Regions from separate parts of the Homo sapiens genome. Here all the other regions are linked to region 2. Evidence: promoter capture Hi-C in 16 types of primary human blood cells and fetal thymus (Javierre and others, 2016). All regions are on one chromosome and are shown on one strand. Each heading gives the region's core, a stretch centred on a gene start or on the middle of the fragment in contact. The rest is flanking DNA. Distances are from core to core; before and after follow the strand shown. Region 1 overlaps TMEM131L (transmembrane 131 like). Region 2 holds the start of TMEM131L (transmembrane 131 like). Region 3 overlaps TMEM131L (transmembrane 131 like).

Region 1 (3,088 bases), core at 193-2,692, 35 kb before region 2:
AATTTGCAATTTTCTTCTATACGCAGAAGTTTTTCAAAGTAATGTTAAACTGAACTTTTTCAGCAGAAGCCATTTCAATGCACATTCAGCCATTTGAAAAGCTTCTATGGTTTAATGATTAGTTTACACATAATTCATTTTTCAACCAACGCACAAGTTAATATATCAATGATCCTTCGTGTTAACTCCCAAAGAGTCAGAATAAATGATACCTTACAGAAGCCTAGGATTGAGTATACTAATAAGGTTCACTGTGACAAAGAGAATGCTAGCTGCCAAACCCAGTAGCTGTTTTCCTGTCCTCCTTAAGAAGACATTTTGAAACAGGCACATGGCTGCAGAAAAGACTCCTCTTCCCAGTCTACCACTTGCAGCTGAGATGCAACCATATGACTAAGTTCTGGAAATGAGATGTATATACAAGTTTGGGACAGCCGCGGTGGTTCACACCTGTAATCCCAGCACTTTGGGAGGACAAGGTGGGAGGACTGCTTGAGCCCAGGTGTTGGAGACCGGCCCGGGAAGCACGGTGAAAACTCATCTCTACAAAAAATTAGCCAGGCATGGTGGCGGGCACCTGTGGTCCCAGCTACTTGTGAGTCTGAGGTGGAAGGATCACTTGAGCCCTGAATGTTAAGGTTGCAGTGAGCCGTGATCATGCCACTGCACTCCAGCCTGGGTAACAGCAAGACTCTGTCTCCATTTAAAAAAAAAAAAAAAAAAAAAAACCCTTTGGGGGATACTTCCAGGAAGTGACCTGGAAAAGGTAGAGGGGAAATCCTACTCTAGCTCCTTCCTCCATCCTGGAGGGGAAATGAAGATGATCCTGCGGGTTGGGCAGTCACCTTGGATTAGGAGACAGAGGAGGCATGGCCTTGATGATTATGAAGCTGTCACCTCAGTCCTGGCCTGCCCTCTGCTCTCTCAGATAAGCAGTATAGAGGAAAGCTTCTATCTCATTTATGTTACTGGGTTTTCTGTCTCATGAAACTGGTCCTAATCCTAACTGATATGCTTCTTCACCACCATAGCAGTGACAGTGATGATGGTAAGAAAAGTGATGGCAAGAAGTAATACAACACCTGCACACATACCCTGAGACTCCTTACCATGTGCCAGAAAATACAGTAGAGGCTTTACTCACATTATTTACATTAATACTTGCAAAACTCAGCTGGGCACAGTGGCCCATACCTGTAATCCCAGCACTTTGGGAGGCCGAGGCAGGCGGATCATGAGGTCAAGCGATCGAGACCATCCTGGCTAACACGGTGAAACCCTGTCTCTCCTAAAAATACAAAAAATTAGCCGGGTGTGGTGGCACGCGCCTGTAGTCCCAGCTACTCAGGAGGCTGAGGCAGAATTGCTTGAACCCGAGGCAGAGGTTGCAGTGAGCCAAGATCGCGCCACTGCACTCCAGCCTGGGTGACAGAGCGAGACTCCGTCTCAAAAAAAAAAAAAAAAAAAAACTTGCAAAACCCCTGTGAGGTGGGCATTATAAGTCCCACTTCTTTAGTTAAGCATCCAGTATGGTCATTATTCTTGCTATTCTAAAATTTCACAATATGCTTGGTGGGATTCTCTAAATCCACTGTGCAGGGTACTTGGCGTACCCTGTTAATCTTCCACTTTCATCAGTTACCATATTCTATCAGTTATCCACTTTCTATCTTCCAGAATTTTTTTTTAACTCTATTATCAACTGATAGCATTTCTTCACTATAGGTTTTTATTAACCTTTTAAATTTCTATCTGATCATTAAACGGCGTCTCTGGAGAAAGAGGAGACTAAGCCATGTAGTCATTCCATCGATTTTCACAACTAGGAAAAAAGTGCACATGCCTGTGTGTGTGTGCATGCACGCGTGTGTGAGCGTGTGTGTTTCTTTGGTCTCAATAGGCTAAGATAGTTCTAAATCATCCAGATAAAGCTTAACAAGGCCAAATGTAAATATTTGTATTTTAAAGAAGGCAATTCATTACTTAAGTGTATATTGAGAAAGAGAAGTTAGCAGTTCCCATTAAAATAAAAAGAAGATGACGGACCCAAAGGTTTTTGTTTGTGTTTGATCTTGTTTGGCCATAAAATAACACGATCCAAGTAGAAAGACACTGCTACTAGAAGTGCTAATGAAATCTTGGGCTTCATTAAAATAAGTAGAGTCCAGACCAAAAAAGAAATGGATTCACTACATAGGGCACCATTCAGATCTCAACAGAATCACTCTATCCACTATTGGCAAAATTTAAACTAAAAAAGTTCTGGGATGGGTGTGGTGGCTCACGCCTGTAATCCCAGCACTTTGGGAGGCTGAGGCTGGAGGATTACTCGAGCCCAAGGAGTTCAAGATCAGCCTGGGCAACATAAAGAAACCCTGTCTCTACAAAGGAATATATAAAAATTAGCTGGGGGTGGGGAGGCATAAGCCTGTGGTCCTAGCTATATGGGAGGCTGAGGCAGGATGACTGCTTGAGCCCAGGAGTTTGAGGCTGCAGTGAGCCATGATTGTACCATTGCACTCCAGCCTGGGTAAGAGAGTGAGACCCTATCTACTCTTGCAAAAAGAAAGAAGGGAGGGAGGGATGGGACAGAGGGAAGGGAACGGAAGGGAACGGAAGGGAGGAAGGGAGGAAGGAAGGTTGGTTCTGACCAAGTTAACATTAGGACTGACTGAAAAACATGAGGAATAATTTAGCCTGGGCGAGTTAAAAAAAAAAATTTAGGTAAAACCAACCTAGAGAAGAGATGTGATAACTGTCTCAAGTCTGTGAGACTGGGATCTGACGGTGGAAGACTAAAGAGAGCAAATGTGAAGTCAAAATCAGAGAACATCTTTACAATGAGAGAGGCTCAAAAATGGAAAGTCAGTTTCAAAGGTGAACTTCCCATCACGTGAAGTGCTCAAGCTGAAGCTGAATAACCAATCAGGGTAAGAATGTCATAAGGGGCTGGGCACGGCGGTTCACGCCTGTAATCCTAGCATTTTGGGAGGCCAAGGTGGACAGATCACGAGGTCAAGAGATTGAGACCATCCTGGCCAACATGGTGAAATCCCCTCTCTACTAAAAATACAAAAATTAGCCGGGC
Region 2 (3,470 bases), core at 839-3,338:
GGGAAAAAATCCATTTGGGAATAAATTTTTAGGAGAAGGAAAAACTATCTGCTCCTCATCCTGATGGGGCCCTTTCTCAAAAGACCTGTCTCATTCAGGCTGCTGGCCTTCAAGGAGGGTCCAGGAAAATTCTCCTCTAAAATCACCTCTCTGCCTTGAAGCTGTTATTCATTAGCCCTGATCAAAATGAATATTCTAAATATCTCAAAACCAGCACTCTGAATGTTTCACATAGGAGGGAGAAAACTGAAATGTAAAACTGGACAGCCTCTCCGGTAAAGTTATAGCTAGACATCCTGTTTTTCTAAACAGCCGCAAGACACAACACAGAATTAAGTGCTGCCACCACCGTGGGAAGTAATGAACATCTTAAAAAGTACTGCACACAAGCTAAATATTTCCTTATAATTCAAGCCACTCCCACCCAAAAAATGCATTTTGGATCACTACCGTTACTGGTGAAAGGCAGTCAACAACATTATATTTAAATGTGCACACTTCACAGTCAATGGGAATTTCTTGTAAAAGTTAAAAGCTTTGCAGTACTGTATCTGTTGCAGCAATAAACCCTCTATGATGCTACAGATTCCCAATAAAACGTCAGTAATTATTTTTCTACACGCAATCATCATATCATCATACAGAGAAAAAAACCAGAAATTCAAGTTCTTAAGTGGGTGTATTTTAACAGGAATTAAGGGCACTTGGAGAAAATCCAAGATGACAATCCTTGAGAGTCACATCTCCATCCCAAAGCTACTTAACGCTAATGGCAAATACCACTCTAACATTTATGAAATCAATACTCCTGTTGTCCTCAACCTCTTAGCCACTTGCCATCCACACAGCACCAGCTCACTTAGGGAACAGTGTGCACCCAGGACACCCACGGCCGAACAGACCGCTGGCCGCTTCCCTGCTGAGGTGGCCTGGGTTCCCACCTTCTGAACTTGGGGCCGGCCTGCCTCAGGCCCTGTCACATGGCGTGGGAGGAGCCGGGAAGGCCACCGTTGCCAGGTGTTCAGGCTCGGCCCCTAACGTTTATTTGCCTTGCAAAGTGGCCCGAACGCCTGTGCCGCTTGGACAGGGGGTGGGGAGGACCGGGGGCCTCCCCGCCTCTCCTCCCTCGTACACCCACAGCCGCCCTGTCACCTGGTCGTCCTCACCTGAGTGGGCAGCAGGAGTTCCCCTTCTTCTGCCTGCCACAGCTCCACCACGTTCGGCAACGGCTCAATCGCTGCAGGAACACCAAAAAATACACCACGTTTTTAATGCACGCTAAAGAAACGCTTCCTGTTTCCCCTACCGTCCCTCCGTGCCCCCCGCCTCACCAAAACACGTCTCTTTTTCCTCCTGGGAACAGAGGCCATCCCAGGGGCGAGCCAAGGATAAAAATACAATGGGTGGGGTGTGAGCCGGCGGCCCCTCGGACGCGAAGGCGACAGCGTGCAGGCAGGCTCGGGGTGCTCGTGCTGGGGGTGGGGGGACGAAGTGGGAGTGAAGACACCCCACGAGGCACTCCGGGCTCCGCAGCCCGAGCATCTGGAGTGTGGACCCTGGGCGGCCAGGCTCGGGGGAACAAAGCTGCAGGAAGCCGGGCCGCTGCGGGGCACCCGCGCGCGCCACACAAAGCGGGGGCTGCGCCCGGGGCGCAGGGGCCCGCGCACAAAGGCTCCAGGGCGCGAGCGGCTAGCGGTCCCCAAGCCCCGCGACTGCCCCGCTCTCCAGCTGTACGGGGCAGAGAGGCGCGGGACGGGACGCTGTGGTCAGAAAATGTTATCAGCGGAGAATCGCAACAGCTTTCCTTCCTCCTCCTGCCCCTTTCCCTTTCCTCCCCTCGCCCTCTTATAGATTTCAGCAGTTCCCTAAAAGAAAGAGCGGGGGCGGGGTGGAGAGGCAGAGCGAGCCCAGCGGCGCAAGGCTGACCTTGTCCCTGAGCCCCTCCCGGGCGACAGCAGGGCAGCAGGACCTGGAAGACGCCCAGCAGGAGGTTCACGGCCGCCGCGGTGCGGCAGTAGCAGCCGGGCTGCGGGCGTCGGAGCCCCGCCATGCTGCTGCTCGCGCTCCTCTCCGTTGCTCGCCGCGCTCGCCGCTAGCTCGCTGGCGCCCCAGCTGCCTCGCCCCGGGCCCGCCCCCGTGCCGCCCCGCCCCGCCCCGCCCCGCCCCGCCCCGCCCCGCGCCGCACCACCCCCGCCGCTGCCGCAGCTGCTGCAGCTCCAGACCCGGGCGCGCCGCTTGCTCTGAGCGCGTGTGCGCCGCAGATAGGGAGGGACGGAACGCGGCGGGGTGCGGGGGAAAGTGGACAATGCGAACCCGCGGGTGCCCCGCCCCGGCGCGGAGCACATGGCCGCGGGCCCGCCCCGCAGCGCGCACTCTGCGGGGCCCGGGCGCTTTCCTCGGCTGGGACGGGGTCGCTTAGAGCTGTCCGCGGGGACTAGCGGCCCACTTTTGCCAAGTGCATTTTCATGAACTTTTGGGTGGTTGCCGCTTTGTCGAGGCGCTTGGGCCACGGTCGAGAGATTACCCTCGAGGGAAGAGGTGGCGGTGGAGGTGGGAACGAGGAGTCGCCAAGCGAGAGGCCTTGGACACAGGATATTAGTGGAAATAATGCAGTGGTTGTCAGGAAACGCGAGTGCAGCCACATGGCCACTGCCAGTTATGCAGCGAGGATATCCGGTGGCTGCAAAGTCTGTAATTTAGAATAAAAAGAGCTCTCCCAAAACCCGAGAGGCAGACCTCAGCGCCGCGTGGCGGTAGTGCGCCCGGCACCCTCTGTGGACACTGTCCAGGTCCTGACAGGTGGGGAAGACTCTTCCTAGGGGATTTATAGCTTCAAAGACCCTGCAAATACTCCCTTTTGGAATCATATTGCAAAATTCAGCCAGCCTCTCCTGAAATATGGTTGGGGTCGAGGATGTGGTTAGTTGCCTGTTTCTAACATTAGTAGGATAATGGAAGTAATACGTGGAAATACATTTCCTAGTTCCAGGTTTTGATGCCTATAACTAACAAGTCCAAAATCTGGCATCTCTTTAAGTTAACATCCTGCCTTTACCAGCGATGTCGCAAACAAGGGCTTATTCAGAAATCAATTTGCATAACCTAGAAGTATGGGCAATCTTATGATTTTTTAAAGTTAACTTACTGCTTCCACTGTAGCTTGTATGAAATTCAGAGAATATGAACAATATAGTATGAAGAGGGGAAGTGATGGGACACACCTGTTTACCTTAATCCTCTGTTTAATTGCTCCTTGTGCCTTACAAGCCAGACTATAGAAAACCAGTGCTTGCATAGCAGACACAATCCTGAGAAGGACAAAATGAAATCTAGATCCTCTTTCCTAAAGACGTAATACAGTACTGTGAACACAGTCTCACACACTGTCTGCATTTAACTCCAAACAAGGTTAAATAGTCTAATTGCTTGGCCAGACTTAACATTTAAGTAGATTAGCATAAACGTAAGTT
Region 3 (3,035 bases), core at 479-2,978, 52 kb before region 2:
TGTGTAAAAGCCACAAGCCATCTTCCTAGAAATGCAGAGTGAATTTCTGTCTTACAGCCTAGCTTGACCCTCAAGCCTGTGGGGCTCATTTTTCCTTCATTTCTGTCTCTGAAATTGGTCCAATTATCTATGTACTAAATGCATGTCTCTGCTTTACAATTAGATTTGCCTGTTGTTTCCTTCCTATGTAAACCCAATTATTAAAGTTTAAGATTGCTTGGTCATTCTCCACATTCTATATGTGATGGCAAATAGAGTCAGACAGGTAAGAATGTGCAAACTACTGTAGCAGCTCAAAGCATCTCCATCCCTTTATCCCAGCTCTTCCCCTAACACACTTATGGTGTTAATGTCACCTAAAGTTTGAGTAACACTTCTTCACAAAATCTGTAGCAAGAAAGTGAAAGATTCGTCCATCTGGATTTGGGTATAAAGTCTTCAACTTCAAAAACAACTACTATGCCACTAAATAATTTTCAGCAGTTTCCATGAAAAGCTTGGCCCCAAGCTGCAACACAGAAAGATAATATTTACACATGACATCAGAACAACTGCTGAAATTCCAGAGAACTTTCCCTACCAAATCTCTAAGTAAAGAACAGAAAGTACCCCACACAGCCTACACCCCCTAGCTCACCAGCAGGTCTACAATGCTCATAAGACTTCTCATGTCCCCTAAGGCTGTTTGGTCTTATCACCAATTTGACAAATCCTTTACATGTGGAATTTTCCCCCCAGGAAGGTGGGGAGAAAAAGTATTACACATAAAGACTACAAACTGATCACAGCAAATGTAAGAATGGTGGTCAAAAGTTTAAGATACAGCAAGGAAACCCCAGGTTAAGGTCTCTTGATGTCTTCACCACCCCACCGACTAGAATTCTTATCAATGCCTGCACTGACATGGAGTAAACAGAAAAGGGCAGGCACCGTTAGGATAGAACCAGGAAATCAGCACGTGTCCCCCGGAGTCACAAGTGCAATGAAAGGGCTGAAAGTCAGTTTCGATATCACCGAAGGAGAAAACAGAGCCTGAGCACCAAGTCGGGCTATTGATTTTTACAGTAAACTCGTACCAACATATACGAGAGCCTATCATTATTTCTGAAACTGTCACACATGATTTCAGTCAATAGGAAATTTCTCAGTAATTGGCCTGATGTTCCCATCGCTTCTATGATGCTTAAGAGTATCACTATTCTATATCCCTTCCCTGTAGCACCAAACACATCACACTTGTTACGTACATTTTTCTCTCCAGTGATTTTGTGCTGAGACCAAAAAATTGAATGTATTCACTATGTTTTCAAGCTTTTCTATTCCATTAACAGTTTCTCAAGTATGATGTCTGCATCTTATTTTCATAGGCCTCAATACTAGGTTCAGCCTCTTCTGATTCTTTTTTCTCTCTGGACCTGCTCTCGTGTGTTCCCTTCTACCCCTGGTGGACACAGCTTTCTATTATAGCAAAAACACTGTCTTTCGAAATGCGCAGCAGCATCCCACAAGAAGTGCTCGGGAAATGAGGAGGAGTTTTTAATGTGCAAGTGTTCAGTCCTACAATCACAGTGCACAGCATGCTTGGTTCCAAGGACTGTGTGAGAACGCAAGCACCTGCTGACTGACCTCGGCCTCAATTCTAAACAGGAACCTGGCTGGAATCAAGCCCGGCATGTTCACTCCCATTGTCAGGTCTCAGCTCTCACTAAAAGCAAGTTGGAAATTTTCTGTCTGTTCAACAAAAAGGTTACTGTTTTTTTTTTCACCCCATTATAAAACACACACTCATCGTAAGTTCAAGGAATAAAGAAAACTAGTAAATATATCACCCACCACTCAAATTGGGCAAATTTTCAAGCCAAAAAAACAGGGTCCAAAAGATTCTTACTCAGTCTAAAGGCTTTAAACAAGGTGAACCAAAGAGTTAGGAGAGAGGCTATTTGGGTGCCTACTACCACCATTGGGTTATCCAGAAAATCAAGTGTGTACTAAAATAGGTATTTCATCTTGTTAATAAGGTTTGGGAACACATGACTGCATATACACAGACACTGCACACAAGATTAATCATAACCATTTTCCAAGAGTCTTTCTTTCACTGCTACCATAGTTTTCAGGAGCCCACTCACTGGTAACCAAGCTTCCTTGAACAAAAGGCTCCTGACCTAAACATTAAGAGCGCTAAGGAGCAATATACTCAGTGGGTTCCATTCAATTCAGCATTACATTCGACACCTAATGTCCCAGGCAGGGCAGATCCAGGTTTTATGGAGCTCTGAAACTTATGTGAGAGGGCAAAGTGGAGTATTTTAAAGGAAAAAAAAATACACACTATATATTACTTCTGAAGACTTAATAAAAAACACAGTCATGTAAAAACATTCCTAGGAACCCGCCCAGGGCCTTGTAAAGGACCCGTGCAAGGGAGGATGAGAGAACATGTCTGTGCCTGTGCAGTTGAGGGAAGAGGTGGGAAATGCTTCCTAGATTAAGGGATGTCCCAGCAGAGGTCTGGAGGCGGCACAGGAAGTGATCTCCAGGCATAGCAAATAAGTCCAATGGTGGAAACAAAGGAAACTTCAACCAACTTCATCTTCATAAGTACATGCAAACTAAAAGAAGTATATAATACCAATTTGGACCTCTTAGATTAAAATTTAAAAGATGAGCTGGCCAGGCGTGGTGGCTCACGCCTGTAATCCCAGCACTCCGGGAGGCCGAGGTGGGTGGATCATGAGGTCAGGAGTTTGAGACCAGCCTGGCCAACACGGTGAAACCCCATCTCTACTAAAAATACAAAAATTAGCCAGGCATGGTGGCGCGCACCTGTAATCCCAGCTACTCAGGAGCCTGAGGCAGGAGAATCGTTGGAACCCGGGATGCGGAGGTTGCAGTGAGCCAAGATCGCCCCCACTGCACTCCAGCCTAAGTGACGGAGCAAGACTCCGTCTCAAAAGAATAATAATAATAAATAAATAAAATTTAAAAGATGAACAAAAAGTACTGGTACCTAGTGCTGGGAGGCTCGTAAGAAA

Evidence for each region. Contacts are between HindIII fragments. The CHiCAGO score rates a contact against its expected background, and 5 or more counts as called.
Region 1: a fragment that was not itself captured here is called in contact with the fragment with the promoter of TMEM131L in region 2 in 7 of 17 cell types (activated CD4 T cells, naive CD8 T cells, naive CD4 T cells and 4 more); the score reaches 11.9 in activated CD4 T cells.
Region 3: a fragment that was not itself captured here is called in contact with the fragment with the promoter of TMEM131L in region 2 in 10 of 17 cell types (activated CD4 T cells, naive CD4 T cells, total CD8 T cells and 7 more); the score reaches 15.8 in activated CD4 T cells.

The regions. Positions count from the first base shown.
Region 1 is chr4:153,499,584-153,502,671 of GRCh38, reverse strand. All of the region lies in intron 3 of TMEM131L (transmembrane 131 like), which reads right to left. Among named protein-coding and RNA genes, the nearest start is that of TMEM131L, 35 kb to the right of the region's middle. The HindIII fragment of the contact is 983 bases long and covers 951-1,933 here.
Region 2 is chr4:153,464,978-153,468,447 of GRCh38, reverse strand. It overlaps TMEM131L (transmembrane 131 like), which reads right to left and starts at 2,088. Exons shown (of 35, transcript NM_001131007.2): 1 at 1,927-2,088; 2 at 1,167-1,237. The coding sequence starts at 2,050. RefSeq lists enhancers at 398-457, 828-917, 412-1,077, 2,448-2,627 and silencers at 1,388-1,747, 2,118-2,217, 2,258-2,407. The HindIII fragment of the contact is 8,794 bases long and covers 538-3,470 here.
Region 3 is chr4:153,516,761-153,519,795 of GRCh38, reverse strand. The region is part of intron 3 of TMEM131L (transmembrane 131 like); the gene reads right to left. Among named protein-coding and RNA genes, the nearest start is that of TMEM131L, 52 kb to the right of the region's middle. The HindIII fragment of the contact is 829 bases long and covers 1,314-2,142 here.